Linked DNA regions of Homo sapiens: regions 1 and 2 are each linked to region 3. Evidence: promoter capture Hi-C in human tissues and cell types (Jung and others, 2019). All regions are on one chromosome and are shown on one strand. Each heading gives the region's core, a stretch centred on a gene start or on the middle of the fragment in contact. The rest is flanking DNA. Distances are from core to core; before and after follow the strand shown.

Region 1 (4,072 bases), core at 53-2,552, 58 kb after region 3:
AGATGACCGACGACAGAGAAGCATCAAAGATTAAAAGGGAAACAAAAGTTTGCTTTTATTCCCAAAACTGTGCTCATATAGCTGATTATCCACATCGTTAAGAAATCAAGGCCGGGTGTGGTGGTTCACGCCTGTAATCCCAGCACTTAGGGAGGCCAAAGTGGGCAGATCACGAGGTCAGGAGTTTGAGACCATCCTGGCCAACATGGTGAAATCCAATCTCTACTAAAAATTTAAAAGTTAGCCAGGCGTGGTGGTGCACACCTGTAATCCCAGCTACTCGGGAGGCTGAGGCAGGAGAATCGCAGAACTCAGGTGGCAGAGGTTGCAGTGAGCCGAGATCAGGCCACTGCACTCCAGCCTGGGAGACAGAGGAAGACTCCATTTCTGGGGGGGGGGGGAAAGAAAGAAATCAGAGGCTGGGTGCAGTGGCTCACATCTGTAATCCCAGCATCTATAATCCCAGCACTGTGGGAGGCTGAGGCAGGCAGATTGCTTGAGCCTAGGAGTTCAAGACCAGCCTGGGCAACATGGTGAAATCCTGATTCTACTAAAAATACAAAAGAGTTAGGTGGGCATGGTAGTGTGCGCCTATAGTCCCAGCTACGCGGGAGGCTGAGGCAGGAGGATCACTTGAGCCCAGGAGGCAGAAGTTGCAACAAGCTGAGATCACGCCACTGCACTCCAGTCTGGGTGACAGAGCGAGATGCTGTTTCAAAAGAAAAATATAGGTCAGGCACAGTGTCTCATGCATGTAATCCCAGCACTCTGTGAGGCTGAGGTGGGTAGGTCACTTGAGATCAGGAGTTCGAGACCAGCCTGCCCAACGGGGTAGGAGGGAGGAAGGGGAGGCAGGGGCCTGAATCCAAACCAGATAAGAAGACCCCCAGCAAAGGGGACTGTGGCACTGAGATGGAAAGCCCCTTCCCTCCCCTCCTGCAGGAAGTGAGTGCTGGGAGATGAGGGTCTGGCAGAGACTCTGGAGACACAGGAATTTCAAACATGCAGCCATTCTCTCCCCTCAAGATGTTTGCAGCTGGGTGTGGTGTAATCCCAGCACTTTGGGTGGCCTCACGCCTATAATCCCAACACTTTGGGTAGCCAAGGTGGGCAAATCACTTGAGTCCAGGAGTTCAAGACCGGCCTGGCCAACATGGTAAAACACAGTCTCTACTAAAAACACAAAAAATTAGCCGGGCAGGTGGCACACATCTGTAGTCCCAACTACTCGGGAGGCTGAGGCACAAGAATCGCTTGAACTCAAGGGGCGGAGGCTGCAGTGGGCCGAGATCGCGCCACTGTACTCCAGCCTGGGTAACAGAGCAAAACTGTCTCAAAAAAAAAAAAAAAAGATGCTTGCAAAAGTTTTAAGGTACATGGGATACCTACATATTTAAGCTGTATGAGGCATGAGGAAAACAAGAAACTTCTGGACAGACTGTATCTCCCAGCCTTTCAGGGCCAATGAGACAAAGATTTAAGGAAGACTGTCACCTCACAAAGAGCTCTACCAGGCTCTCAGATGGCACCCCTAAGGGGTTACACTGTAGAAAAAGGGAAGGATCAACAATAGACGAAGTCTCATCAAAATGCAACTCGGCTCTGACCAGCTACTTGCCACCTGGATGGAGATGGACAGCTCACCACCACCACATTTCCCATGGAGGAAAGGAAAGCCCTCTCTGGAAGAAAACACCCTGCTGGAGTCTCTGGCTTGTGATACACAATGAGCAGCACACCACACACACTCAGCACGCCAGTAACAAGGACAGACAGACAGACGGTCCACGGAAAACACATTGCAGCTGCAGACCCACATATGCTAACCCATAATTAGAAAAAAAATCAATCAATTAAAACTGATGCAGAAATAAGCAGGTGATATGAGTTAGTATATAAGAACATTAAAAGTTAATATGGGTCGGGTGCAGTGGCTCACGCCTATAACCCCAACACTTTTGGAGGCTGAGGCGGGAGGACTGCTCGAGGCCAGGAGTTCAAGATCAACCTGGCCAACATAGTGACACCCTGTCTCTTTATTTTTTTATTTTTTATTTTTTTGAGACGGAGTCTTGCTCTGTCACCCAGGCTGGAGTGCAGTGGCACAATCTTGGCTCATTGCAAGCTCTGCCTCCCAGGTTTACACCATTCTCCTGCCTCAGCCTCCCGAGTAGCTGGAACTACAGGCGCCTGCCACCATGCCCGGCTAACTTTTTGTAGTTTTAGTAGAGACGGGGTTTCACCGTGTTAGCCAGGATGGTCTCGATCTCCTGACCTTGTGATCCGCCCGCCTCAGCCTCCGAAAGGGCTGGGATTACAGGCGTGAGCCACTGCGCCCAGCTGACACCCTGTCTCTTTAAAAAAAAAAAAAAAAAGGAAAAAAGAAACAAAGAAAAAAGTTGTTTTTTTTTTTTTTTTTGAGACAGAGTCTAGCTCTGTTCCCCAGGCTGGAGTGCAGTGGCACGATCTTAATGCAAGCTCCGCCTCCCAGGTTCACGCCATTCTCCTGCCTCAGCCTCCCGAGTAGCTGGGACTACAGGTGCCTGCTACCACGCCCGGCTTATTTTTTGTATTTTTTTTTTTTAGTAGAGACGGGGTTTCACCGTGTTAGCCAAGATGGTCTCAATCTCCTGACCTTGTGATCCGCCCATCTCGGCCTCCCAAAGTGCTGGGATTACAGGCATGAGCCGCCGCGCCCGGCCGAAAAAAGTTAATATAACTGTATCCCCTATGTTCAAAGAGTTAAGTAGAAACACAGGAAGCAATTAACAACTTAAACTTCTGGAATGAAAACTACAATGTCTGAGATGAACAATATGCTGGATGAGATTAACTGCAGATGAGACACTGTAGAAGTCCAGATCAACGAATGTGAAGACTAAAAGAAATTATCCAAAATGAAACACTGAAGAAGACTGAAATGAAATGAACAGAGTATCAGTAAACTGCGGGACAACTTCAGGCAGCCAAATACATGTGTAACTGGAGCCCCCAAAGGAGCGGGAAACACCAAAAAGAGAAAACATTGAGTAGCTGCAATTGGCAGGATTCTAAAAAAGGTCCCGAAACATCTCCCACGGTCTTCTCATCTCCACCCCTATCCTTGAGACAGGGTCTCGCTCTGTCACCCAGGCCTGTAGTGCAGTGGCACAATCATGGCTAACTGCAGCCTTGACCTCCCCAGACTCAGGTGATCCTCCTACCTCAGCCTCCTGAGTAGCTGGGACTACAGTTCATGCCACCACATCTACTTTTTGTAGAGACACAGTCTCGCTATGTTGCCCAGGCTGGTCTTGAAGTTCTGGACTCAAGCAATCCTCCTGCCTTGGCCTCCCAAAATGCTGGGATTACAGGCATGAGCCACCATGCCAAGGACCCATCTTCTCATCTTTAGAAACTGAGACTGTCTGTGTTGCAATGGTCGGATTTGGTGTTACTGATCTCAAAGCCAGTGCATGTAGCTCCACTTCTGGTGAGAAGCCCTACGCCATGGAAGCATGAGTAGCGAATATCCAGCCCCAGAAACGTGACAGAAGCCTTTAGTGACAAGCAGGGTTCAACCACAGCTGACAAACGGCTGCTATAGGCAGAATGCACCCAAATTAGAAAGGTCCAAGACAGGTTCACACCATTCTCCATGTACAGAGTTCTTTTTCTTACCATACTTTTACCTTATAAAACACATCAGGCACGTACTGCTCACTGCTAGACTCCTTGGCGTAGCCAAGCTCCGGGGCGTCCTTGCATGGCAGCAAACACTCATCACGGACCAGTGCCATACACTGATTGGACACCTGGTACCCTTCAAAGTGGACTTGGTTGTCAGGACCACCTGCAAGAGAGAGACCTTTAAAAAGAGTCTACCAAACGGCATTCAAAACCAGTCCATATCTGTTAACTCTTCACCTCTGATCAACAGAAAAAACAAACCCTCAAGAGTTTGTCGGGGGTAAGAGTTAAAAAATGTTCAGTAGTCGGCCGGGTGCGGTGGCTCATGCCTGTAATCCCAGCACTTTGGGAGGCTGAGACAGGCGGATCACGAGGTCAGGAGATCGAGACCATCCCGGATAAC
Region 2 (4,730 bases), core at 1,232-3,731, 37 kb after region 3:
GGCAGGAAGATCACTTGAGCCTAGGAGTTTGAGACCAGCCTGGGCAACATGGCAAGACCACATCTTTTTTTTTTTTTTGAGACAGAGTCTTGCTCTGTCGCCCAGGCTGGAGTACAGTGGCACGATCTCAGCTCACTACAACCTACGCTTCCTGGGTCAAGTGATTCTCCTGCCTCAGCCTCCTGAGTAGCTGGGATTACAGGCGCTCGCCACCATGCCCAGCTAATTTTTGTAGTTTTAACAGAAATGGGGTTTCACCATGTTGGCCAGGATGGTCTCAATCCCTTGACGTTGTGATCCACCTGCCTCAGCCTCCCAAAGTGCTGGGATTACAGGTGTGAGCCAGCCACCGGGCCCGGCCAACCCTATCTCTTAAAGAAAAAAAAAAAACACCAACCAAAAACATTAGTTGGGTGTAGTGGCTCATGTTTATACTCCTAGGTACTCCGAAAGCTGATGCAGGAGGATCGCTTGAGCTCAGGAATTGAAGGCTGTAGTGAGCTATGATCACTCCACTGCACTCCAGCCTAGGCAACAGAGTGAAACCCTGTCTCTAAAAGGGAAACAAAAAAGAAAAAAAAAAAAAAGACTGGTGTCATTGTTAGAACTGCATCAAAGGGCTGGGTGCAGTGGCTCCCAGGTATAATCTCAGGACTTTGTGAGGCTGAGGTGCAAGGAATGCTTGAGGCCAAAGTTTGAGACCAGTCTGGGCAACACAGTGAGACCTCATTGATACAAAAATATTAAAAAATTTTGCAGCCATAAAAAGGAATGAAATCATGTCCTTTGCAGCAACATGGATGCAGTTGAAGGCCATTATTCTAAGCAAACTAATGCAGGAACAGCAAACCAAATACTACATGTTTTCATTTATAAGTGGGAGCTAAACATGGGTACTCACGTACATAAAGATGGCAACGCCAGGTGTGGTGGTACACATCTGTAATCCCAGCTACTCGGGAGGCTGAGGGAGGGGAATTGCTTCAACCCAGGAGGCAGAGTTTGCAGTGAGCTAAGATTGCGCCACTGCACTCCAGCCTGGGAGACAGGGTGAGGCTCCAGCTCAAAACACACACACACACACACACACACACACACACACAAAGAGCAGGGCGGGCTGAAAAACTATTAGGTACTATGTGTAGTACCTGGGTGATGTGATCAATCATACCCCAACCTCAGCATCAGGCAATATACCCAGGTGACAAACCTGCACATGTACCCTGTGAATCTAAAATAAGTTAAAATTATTTTTAAAAAACAAACAAATAAAAAGCAACAACAAAGCCCCAAGAATTAGCTGGGTGTGGTGTTGCAAGCCTGTGGTCCCAGTTACTCAGCAGGCTGAAGCAGAAAGATCACTTGAGCCTGGAGTTTGAGGCTGCAGTGAGTTACGATTGTGCAACTGCACTCCAGCCTCGGCAATAGAGTGAGACCCTGTCTCTACAAAAATAAAAATAATAAACAAAGAATTGTGTGAAAAGAAAACCTCGGCTGGGCGTGGTGGCTCACACCTGTAATCCCAACACTCTGGGAGGCAGAGGCAAGCAGATCACAAGGTCAGGAGTTCGAGACCAGCCTGGCTAACATGGTGAAACCCTGGCTCTACTAAGAATACAAAAATTATCCAGGCATGGTGGCACATGCCTGTAGTCCCAGCTACTCAGGAGGCTGAGGCAGGAGAATCGTTTGAACCCAGGAGGTGGAGGTTGCAGTGAGGCAAGATCACGCCACCACACTCCAGCCTGGGTGACAAGAGCCAAACTCCGTCTCAAAAAAAAAAAAAAAAACAGGAAATGGTATAAAGGTGTTTGATGTGTCTTTTGAAGGCTGTGTTAACAGAAGGATTCTAGCATTTGTCCAGGGCCGTAGCTCCCGGGCACTCTGGTGCTCTCAGCTGCAGGGACTCAGGGCACTCGGGCTGCACGAGGCACCACGGTGCGTGAGGAGTCCCTGCAGCAATGCTGACAGAAGGTTCTCACGAGTGGGGAATCGTTCAGGACCTGGTGACTGAGGGTCCGGAAGACACGCAATGCCTGCGGTCCGTTCCGTAGTGTCCACCAGCAACAACATGGATGCTGCAGGCTTCTCCTCCTTACAGCTTTAAGCACTAAAGGGAAATTCTCAAGGAGACCAAAAGGTCCCACGCTTCCGGCGCTTCCATAAAGTTTCTGATTCTCTTAAGACAATGATGTTCAAAGTGCTCCTAGGATGCCTGGAGATTAGTATCTCTGATGTACAGGTTTATAAAATTTACAGGGCTGTGTACCTAAGACGTACGGCCTGGACAACATGTCTGCTCCATCACCGGAGCCTGCCACGTGCCTGGCAGGGAGGCCGAGTCTCTACTCGTTGCATTGCCGATGGCACCTGCCAGGATGCAGCTGGGTGCGGAATCCAGGGCACCACCGGCAGTGGGGAGCTGTGCAGAGTGGGCTGCTCTCCGGCCCCAGCCACGGGGTGCCGGGGCAGGGGGTGGGGGTACTCACTGCACAGCTGCTCGATGGTGGCCCACTGCTCAGACCTCTTCCATGTCTGGGCGAGCTCCTCATTTCTGGTCCGCACGGCCTCCAGCAGCAAGCTGATGCTGTCCTACAAGAAGCCAAAAGGAAGGTTCCTCTTCGCTGTGCCTAAGGTGAGCAGCTTCCTGCTAGAACAGGTTTCTTTCTCCCCAACATCAAGACGTATTTCTGAGGACATTTTAAAAATCTTACAGGCTATCACTATAAAATGCAAACTGCCACAACTTACATCTATAAACGCAAGTGCTAAATTGAACTAGAATTTAAATTCTTCCCAAATAGGCCCAAGCGGGCATCTGTGCCTCTGCCTTGTGCTGACGGTGCTCAACAGCCCGGAGGATAGGAGCTCATGCCTCTCGTCCTGGAGGCTGGGATGGAGGGCGGAAGTCTTGACTGTGAGACGTGTCCTCCTCCCTCACATTTCATCCCTCTGCCTCTTTCTCCTCTCGTGTCTGGAAAAATGCACTCTCTATCCTAGCCTTCCGAGTCAAACTGCAGGGGATTAATGCATTAAGGATGGGCGCAGTGGCTCACGCCTGTAATCCCAACACTTTCAGAGGCAGAGGCAGACAGATCACGAGGTCAGGAGTTTGAGACCAGCCTGGCAAACGTGGCGAAACCCCGTCTCTACTAAAAATACAACAATTAGACAGGCGTGGTTGCGGGCACCTGTAATCCCAGCTACTCGGGAGGCTGAGGCGGGAGAATCGCTTGAACCCAGAAGGCGGAGGTTGCAGTAAGCCAAGATTGCGCCAATGCACTCCGGTCTGGGCAACAGAGCGAGACTCCGTCTTAAAAAAAAATAATTCATATATGAGAAACGGATAAAGCCTTCAGGAGCTCTCAGTACCTCCAGAGAATGTCTTCCAACAGATGACTGCAAAAATAGTGCAGTATACTAGCAAGGTGGCTCTGGTGTAGAGGGAGCCTCACCTTTCACCACCTGTCCAGACAGATGGGCAGCAGCTGAACCTCGGAGCAGGAGGTGCAGTTCCCTGGGCTGACTAGGGAAGGCACAGGCAGGGAAGAGGCACAGGGTGCCTGATGTCAAATACCCGAGTGAGTGGTTTTGAGACAAAATACAGACACAAAATAAACTAGCAGGATACAAGAACAGCTATAGGCTTCCTGACAGAGAAAGGCCGGGGGAGGAGGAGCCTCTCTATTCTGTCTCCTTCAGGGAAAAGTTCTGAGTCAGTGGCGGAGCAGCTCAGAAAGAATTTGCTCCTTTCTCTTTGGCATTTCCTGTTGGCTTGAACAGTGAAGAAAAAGCCAAAGTCGGACCCCTACACACGGCAAGAACCTCCTGGGGGCTGCTGCCCACTGGCCCCCACTACCCAGAGCAGCCACTTCTGCAAAGCACTCGCCCTCTTCTCCCCCAACGGTGTCTCTTAAAAATGCCAACTGTGCAGCTGTGAGCTTGGGGTCTGGAAGCTGGCCAAGCCTTCTGGGCCAAGGCAATAAAACCAGAGTTGATTTAGGAGGAGGGGAGATATGAGTAAAAAGCAGAGGCTGTGACTCTGAAACTGTTAGAACAGGAATTTTTTAAACTGTCTAACTCTAATGCTGGAGGCAGAGCTAAATCACCTCTGCTTCCCATTCGATTGTAACAGATGAAACCGTACTTCCTCACAGAGGTGCAGACACTCAATGGAAATGCTAAAGGTGAAAAAATTAATCTTTCTATCAACAAGCTTCTTGTGAAAAGCTGCTGCCTACACTCTGCCCATAGGACAAATGAGGGGGACAACCTGTGACCCCGAGCTTTGACCCAGTTTCCCAATCATGCTCTGGTCTGGGAGGAAAGAAAGCAAGACACAGGCGTCTCTTTGCAGCCAAAGCCCACTTGCTCAAGTGGACACCACACTTGGACACGCACCTGCAGAGGCATAACTTCATTGGTGACCAGGAACAGCAAGAGGTGGAAATCTGAGATGGTATCCAAGAACACAGATGAGGTATTCTGAGACAAATAGGTGGCCAAGCTATGGAAGTCCTAGAGGAATGGGAATAAACATGAATGTTCCATACAGTTCCCCAGTGCCAGACCCCGAAACAGAGCTGTTTCCTACTAAGACGCAACTCAATACACTGAATGCTGAGACACCTCTCCCTCTGCCTCTGCAACCACGAACAGGGTCCAAGAAAGAGGAGCAGGCAGCTGCAAAGCAAGCTCTTGCTCTCTTCTCCCAAGAAGATGCTCTCAGC
Region 3 (4,427 bases), core at 567-3,066:
TTCCAGTGAGCCAAGATTGCGCCACTGGACTCCAGTTTGGGTGAGGAGCGAGACCCTATTTCAAGAAAAAAGTTTTTTAAAAAGAAGAGCCAATGGGAAAGTGAGGTGCAGGCAGCACCCTAGCTTGTATCCCTAAACCAGAGACAGTTCCCTGGCATCGGTGCTAGGCCTGTGTCCTCAGTCCCCTGGAAACTGTGGGAGAGTGTGTGTGGGCATCGTCTCTGGGAAGGGGGTGAAACCCCAGACTGCGTCTCCCCAGGATGGTGCCTGGCACGTGACCTGGTTTCGCACACAGTTGGTGCCTCATAAATGCGTGTGAATCATAGAGGCGGATGAGGCCAGCACACAGGGAGAGGCGAGAGCAGGCCCTGGCGTCGTGGCGTACGCTGTGCCCTGGGGGGTATTTGCATGTGGGAGTCTCTCTGCCCCCACCCTGGCCCCTGAGCGTGGGGACAGTGGGGACAGGTCTCCTCTTTTTCCTCCCCTGTGTCTGCAGGTGCCTGGCACGGTTGCTGTCCAGGGCTTAGAGGACAGAGGAAGAGCCCCTGAGTCTGTGCACACTCTGCCACCATGGCCCTGCCCACCTCTGGAGCCCACAGGTGCCCAGCCCAGGCCCCTTGCTTTTGGCTAGACTCCTGCCCTACGGGGACCCCCATGATGGCCACTCAGGAGATGGGCCCAGGAGGACAGGGGAGTGACTCCAGGCCATGACCGGAAGGGGCCTGTGGCCCCTGTTCCCAGTCCCCAGGGAGACGGGAGGGTCACACGCTGTTATGAGGAAGAGGACACCGGGCTGGCCCTGGCCCAGGGTGGCCAGCTCTGGTTTCACTACTTGGCCCCAAGCCCCTGAGGCAGGTGCAGGAGCCAGGCACGGTGAGCAGGGCCCAGTGCCCCTCAGGCTCTGGGGAAGGGGTACAGCCAGGTGGCCCAGAGCAAGGAGGTGCTGTAGACAGGTGTGACCACTTCCAGTCTCTCCCGGCCTGCTGGCCTTCATCCTCTCCCAGATTCCAAGGGCCACCGCTGGGAGCATGGGGTGGACATCGTCCCACCAGCCTCCTGGATCCACATCCGTAAAGACTCCAAAGTGAAGTGAGGCTGGCTTCACTCCAGCTCACAGCAGAGGAGGGGGCAGCCTCAGGGCCCAGCAACTTGCTCAGAGCGCACAGGAGTGCGCTGGGGCCGGGCCAGCCTGGCCCAGGGCCTCTGACTCTGCCCCCTGCCTGCAGGGCTGCACGGCCACTGTGTTCCACCCTCCAGCGTGGGTGGCAGTCCAGTGCGTCATTCTGGGGCCTGAGCAGTGTGGCCAGAGGCCGGTCTGGGGTGGAGGCGACCTGGGCTGCAGGTTGTGGCTGGGGTCCTTGCTATGCTTCTGGCAGCAGGAATCAGAGAAGCAGTAACTGGATCCAGCTGAGGGCCTGGCGGCCACCGAGGGTACGGGCGGCGATCAGGTTGCGGCCGAGCCGTGAGCGTTCCACTGGACGGCTTCTACATCCGGAAGGGCTGGGCCGGGCCGGGCCGGGAGCCCACACGGGGTTGGAGGAGGGGGGCAGGAACGAGAGAGGCCAAAAGGTGCAGGGCCGTGAAGAGGGGCGCTGGGCCCACGCTATGAGGAAAAGGGGATCAACCCTGCCCTCCAGCCCCGTAGGCCCTCAGGCCCTCGGGCTCTGGGCTCTGTGCAATCCGGGAGTGGCTGAAATCCAAGCTGAGGGTAATGAAAGGTGCTGCTCCTAAGCCGCACGTCTCTGATCCGCCCTCCCCGCCCGCCCTCTGCTGCCCGCGGGCCCTCTAAGAGCTGCCCAGGCTGCTGCCGCGGGTCAGAGGCGGGTCAGAGCAGGCAGGGGGTTCGTGACGCCGGCTGGGTCTGGGGGCTGTGGGCCAGCCGAGCCGACCCGGGCTTCTGGGGGACCGCGGGGGCCGTGAGCACTCAGAGGGCGCATCCCAGGCCCCTCCGGGGACCCGGCCAGCCTGAAGATGCCGACGAACGGCCTGCACCAGGTGCTGAAGATCCAGTTTGGCCTCGTCAACGACACTGACCGCTACCTGACAGCTGAGAGCTTCGGCTTCAAGGTCAATGCCTCGGCACCCAGCCTCAAGAGGAAGCAGACCTGGGTGCTGGAACCCGACCCAGGACAAGGCACGGCTGTGCTGCTCCGCAGCAGCCACCTGGGCCGCTACCTGTCGGCAGAAGAGGACGGGCGCGTGGCCTGTGAGGCAGAGCAGCCGGGCCGTGACTGCCGCTTCCTGGTCCTGCCGCAGCCAGATGGGCGCTGGGTGCTGCGGTCCGAGCCGCACGGCCGCTTCTTCGGAGGCACCGAGGACCAGCTGTCCTGCTTCGCCACAGCCGTTTCCCCGGCCGAGCTGTGGACCGTGCACCTGGCCATCCACCCGCAGGCCCACCTGCTGAGCGTGAGCCGGCGGCGCTACGTGCACCTGTGCCCGCGGGAGGACGAGATGGCCGCAGACGGAGACAAGCCCTGGGGCGTGGACGCCCTCCTCACCCTCATCTTCCGGAGCCGACGGTACTGCCTCAAGTCCTGTGACAGCCGCTACCTGCGCAGCGACGGCCGTCTGGTCTGGGAGCCTGAGCCCCGTGCCTGCTACACGCTGGAGTTCAAGGCGGGCAAGCTGGCCTTCAAGGACTGCGACGGCCACTACCTGGCACCCGTGGGGCCCGCAGGCACCCTCAAGGCCGGCCGAAACACGCGACCTGGCAAGGATGAGCTCTTTGATCTGGAGGAGAGTCACCCACAGGTGGTGCTGGTGGCTGCCAACCACCGCTACGTCTCTGTGCGGCAAGGTAGGGAGGGCACAGGTGGCGACCTCCTGAGGGGTGCTGGGACCCCCCTGCTTCAGGGAGGAGGCCGTGGGGGTCTCACGGGGAGTGGTATCGTGTCTGTGCGTTCACATGTCTGTTCTGGGCTGGGGGTCCATGTGGGACATGTGTGGCCACTCAGGGTGTAGGTGGGTGGGCCTCGGGCCATGCCCAGGCGACCCCCACTGAGGGGTGGTGGCTTCAGGGTCAGAGGCAAGGGTTCCTGGCCTTTCTCAGCATAGCTGGAGAATGTCTCAGCCAAGCCCTGGGCAGCTGCGGAGTCTGAGACTGGAGAGGTGTGGGCCAGGCGATGGGCAGTGCCCAGCAGGGGCAGGAGGCCCACAGCCTGGCCTGGTGCCATGAGGGGCATGTGGGCAGGAGGCTGTGGGGGGTCCATATCTCCCCTTCTTTTTCTCCACCCCATTTTCTGGACTTCATTTATTTATTTATTTTTTGAGACAGAGTCTCGCTCTGTCACCCAGGCTGGAGCGCAGTGGCGTGATCTCGGCTCACTGCAAGCGCCGCCTCACGGGTTCACGCCATTCTCCTGCCTCAGCCTCCCGAGTAGCTGGGACTACAGGCGCCCGCCACCACGCCCGGCTAATTTTTTGTATTTTTTAGAAGAGACGGGGTTTCACTGTGTTAGCCAGGATGGTCTTGATCTCCTGACCTTGTGATCTGTCCACCTCGGCCTCCCAAAGTGCTGGGATTACAGGCGTGAGCCACCGTGCCCGGCTGCATTTTCTGGACTTTAAAGGAAATTGGGGAGGAGCCCAGGGTAGGGCAGGGAGCTGGGGATCGGGCGGGGATAGCACCACCACGTGCCTGACCAGTGGAGCCTCGTGTCCTCAGGAGTGGGGGGGCTTAAGGTCAGCTCCAGTGATGGAGGACACGGTGGGCAGGCAGCTTTACCCGGGGCCTGGGCTCCTGGTGGGGAGGCACCTCCCTGCCCCAGTGGGGCGTGGCCTGGCTCTCCCCAGTTCCCAGGTCACCAGTTGCCTGTCTGTGTGACTCCCTCCACCGCCTATGGGGTGAACCCCAGCAGTTCCTCCTTCCCCACAAGCTGAGCTCTGAGGGAAAAGCCCTGGCCCGGGCAGTCACTACCCACCTGGGCTCCTGGCTCCATGCACCCCAGAGTGGCTCGGAGGTGGTCTGAAAAGGCGAGGTGGGGAGAGCCGGGTGCATGGAGCTCCTCCTCCCAACTCAGGTCCTTCCAGACCAGCATCAGCTGGGCAAGGAGAGCTCCCCTGTCTCCTGGCAGCTCCCAGGTGCCCACCAAGCCCCCACCCTGACGGATGTCCAGGCCCCCTGGGTACACTGACACTCTGGGGCCAGATGGCAGAGGCCCCACCCTGTGCATGGAGAGGGGAGCCCAGCCATGGCTATGGGGTCCTGCACCTGCAGTTGGCATCCTCGGGCCTGTCCCAGCAGTGACAGGGTCCCAGGAGTGAGAATTCAACTGTGGATGCACGGCCATGGCCCTTCCTTCCTATCACAGCCCACAGTCCAGCTGTAATGCCTGCTGGCCTGGGCCCAGGCCGGGCATGTGGCAATCCTTAGGTGGTTAAAGGGGGTAAGTGGGACAGTGGCAGTGAGAATGCTTCCTCCATGGAAG

The links. The method cuts DNA at HindIII sites, captures the fragments that hold promoters and counts their contacts. A contact is called where the count stands out against the background at its distance.
Region 1: a contact is called between a fragment that was not itself captured here and the fragment with the promoter of FSCN2 in region 3, in 1 of the 25 tissues and cell types used here (lymphoblastoid cells).
Region 2: a contact is called between a fragment that was not itself captured here and the fragment with the promoter of FSCN2 in region 3, in 2 of the 25 tissues and cell types used here (dorsolateral prefrontal cortex and lymphoblastoid cells).

The regions. Positions count from the first base shown.
Region 1 is chr17:81,585,273-81,589,344 of GRCh38, forward strand. It overlaps NPLOC4 (NPL4 homolog, ubiquitin recognition factor), which reads right to left. Exons shown (of 17, transcript NM_017921.4): 12 at 3,672-3,832. Among named protein-coding and RNA genes, the nearest start is that of FAAP100, 35 kb to the left of the region's middle. The HindIII fragment of the contact is 8,680 bases long and covers 1-4,072 here.
Region 2 is chr17:81,563,016-81,567,745 of GRCh38, forward strand. It overlaps NPLOC4 (NPL4 homolog, ubiquitin recognition factor), which reads right to left. Exons shown (of 17, transcript NM_017921.4): 15 at 4,402-4,518; 16 at 2,490-2,592. Among named protein-coding and RNA genes, the nearest start is that of FAAP100, 13 kb to the left of the region's middle. The HindIII fragment of the contact is 4,654 bases long and covers 155-4,730 here.
Region 3 is chr17:81,526,561-81,530,987 of GRCh38, forward strand. FSCN2 (fascin actin-bundling protein 2, retinal) reads left to right here and starts at 1,817. Exons shown (of 5, transcript NM_012418.4): 1 at 1,817-2,797. The coding sequence starts at 1,972. RefSeq lists enhancers at 1,739-2,265, 2,266-2,791. The HindIII fragment of the contact is 15,570 bases long and covers 1-4,427 here.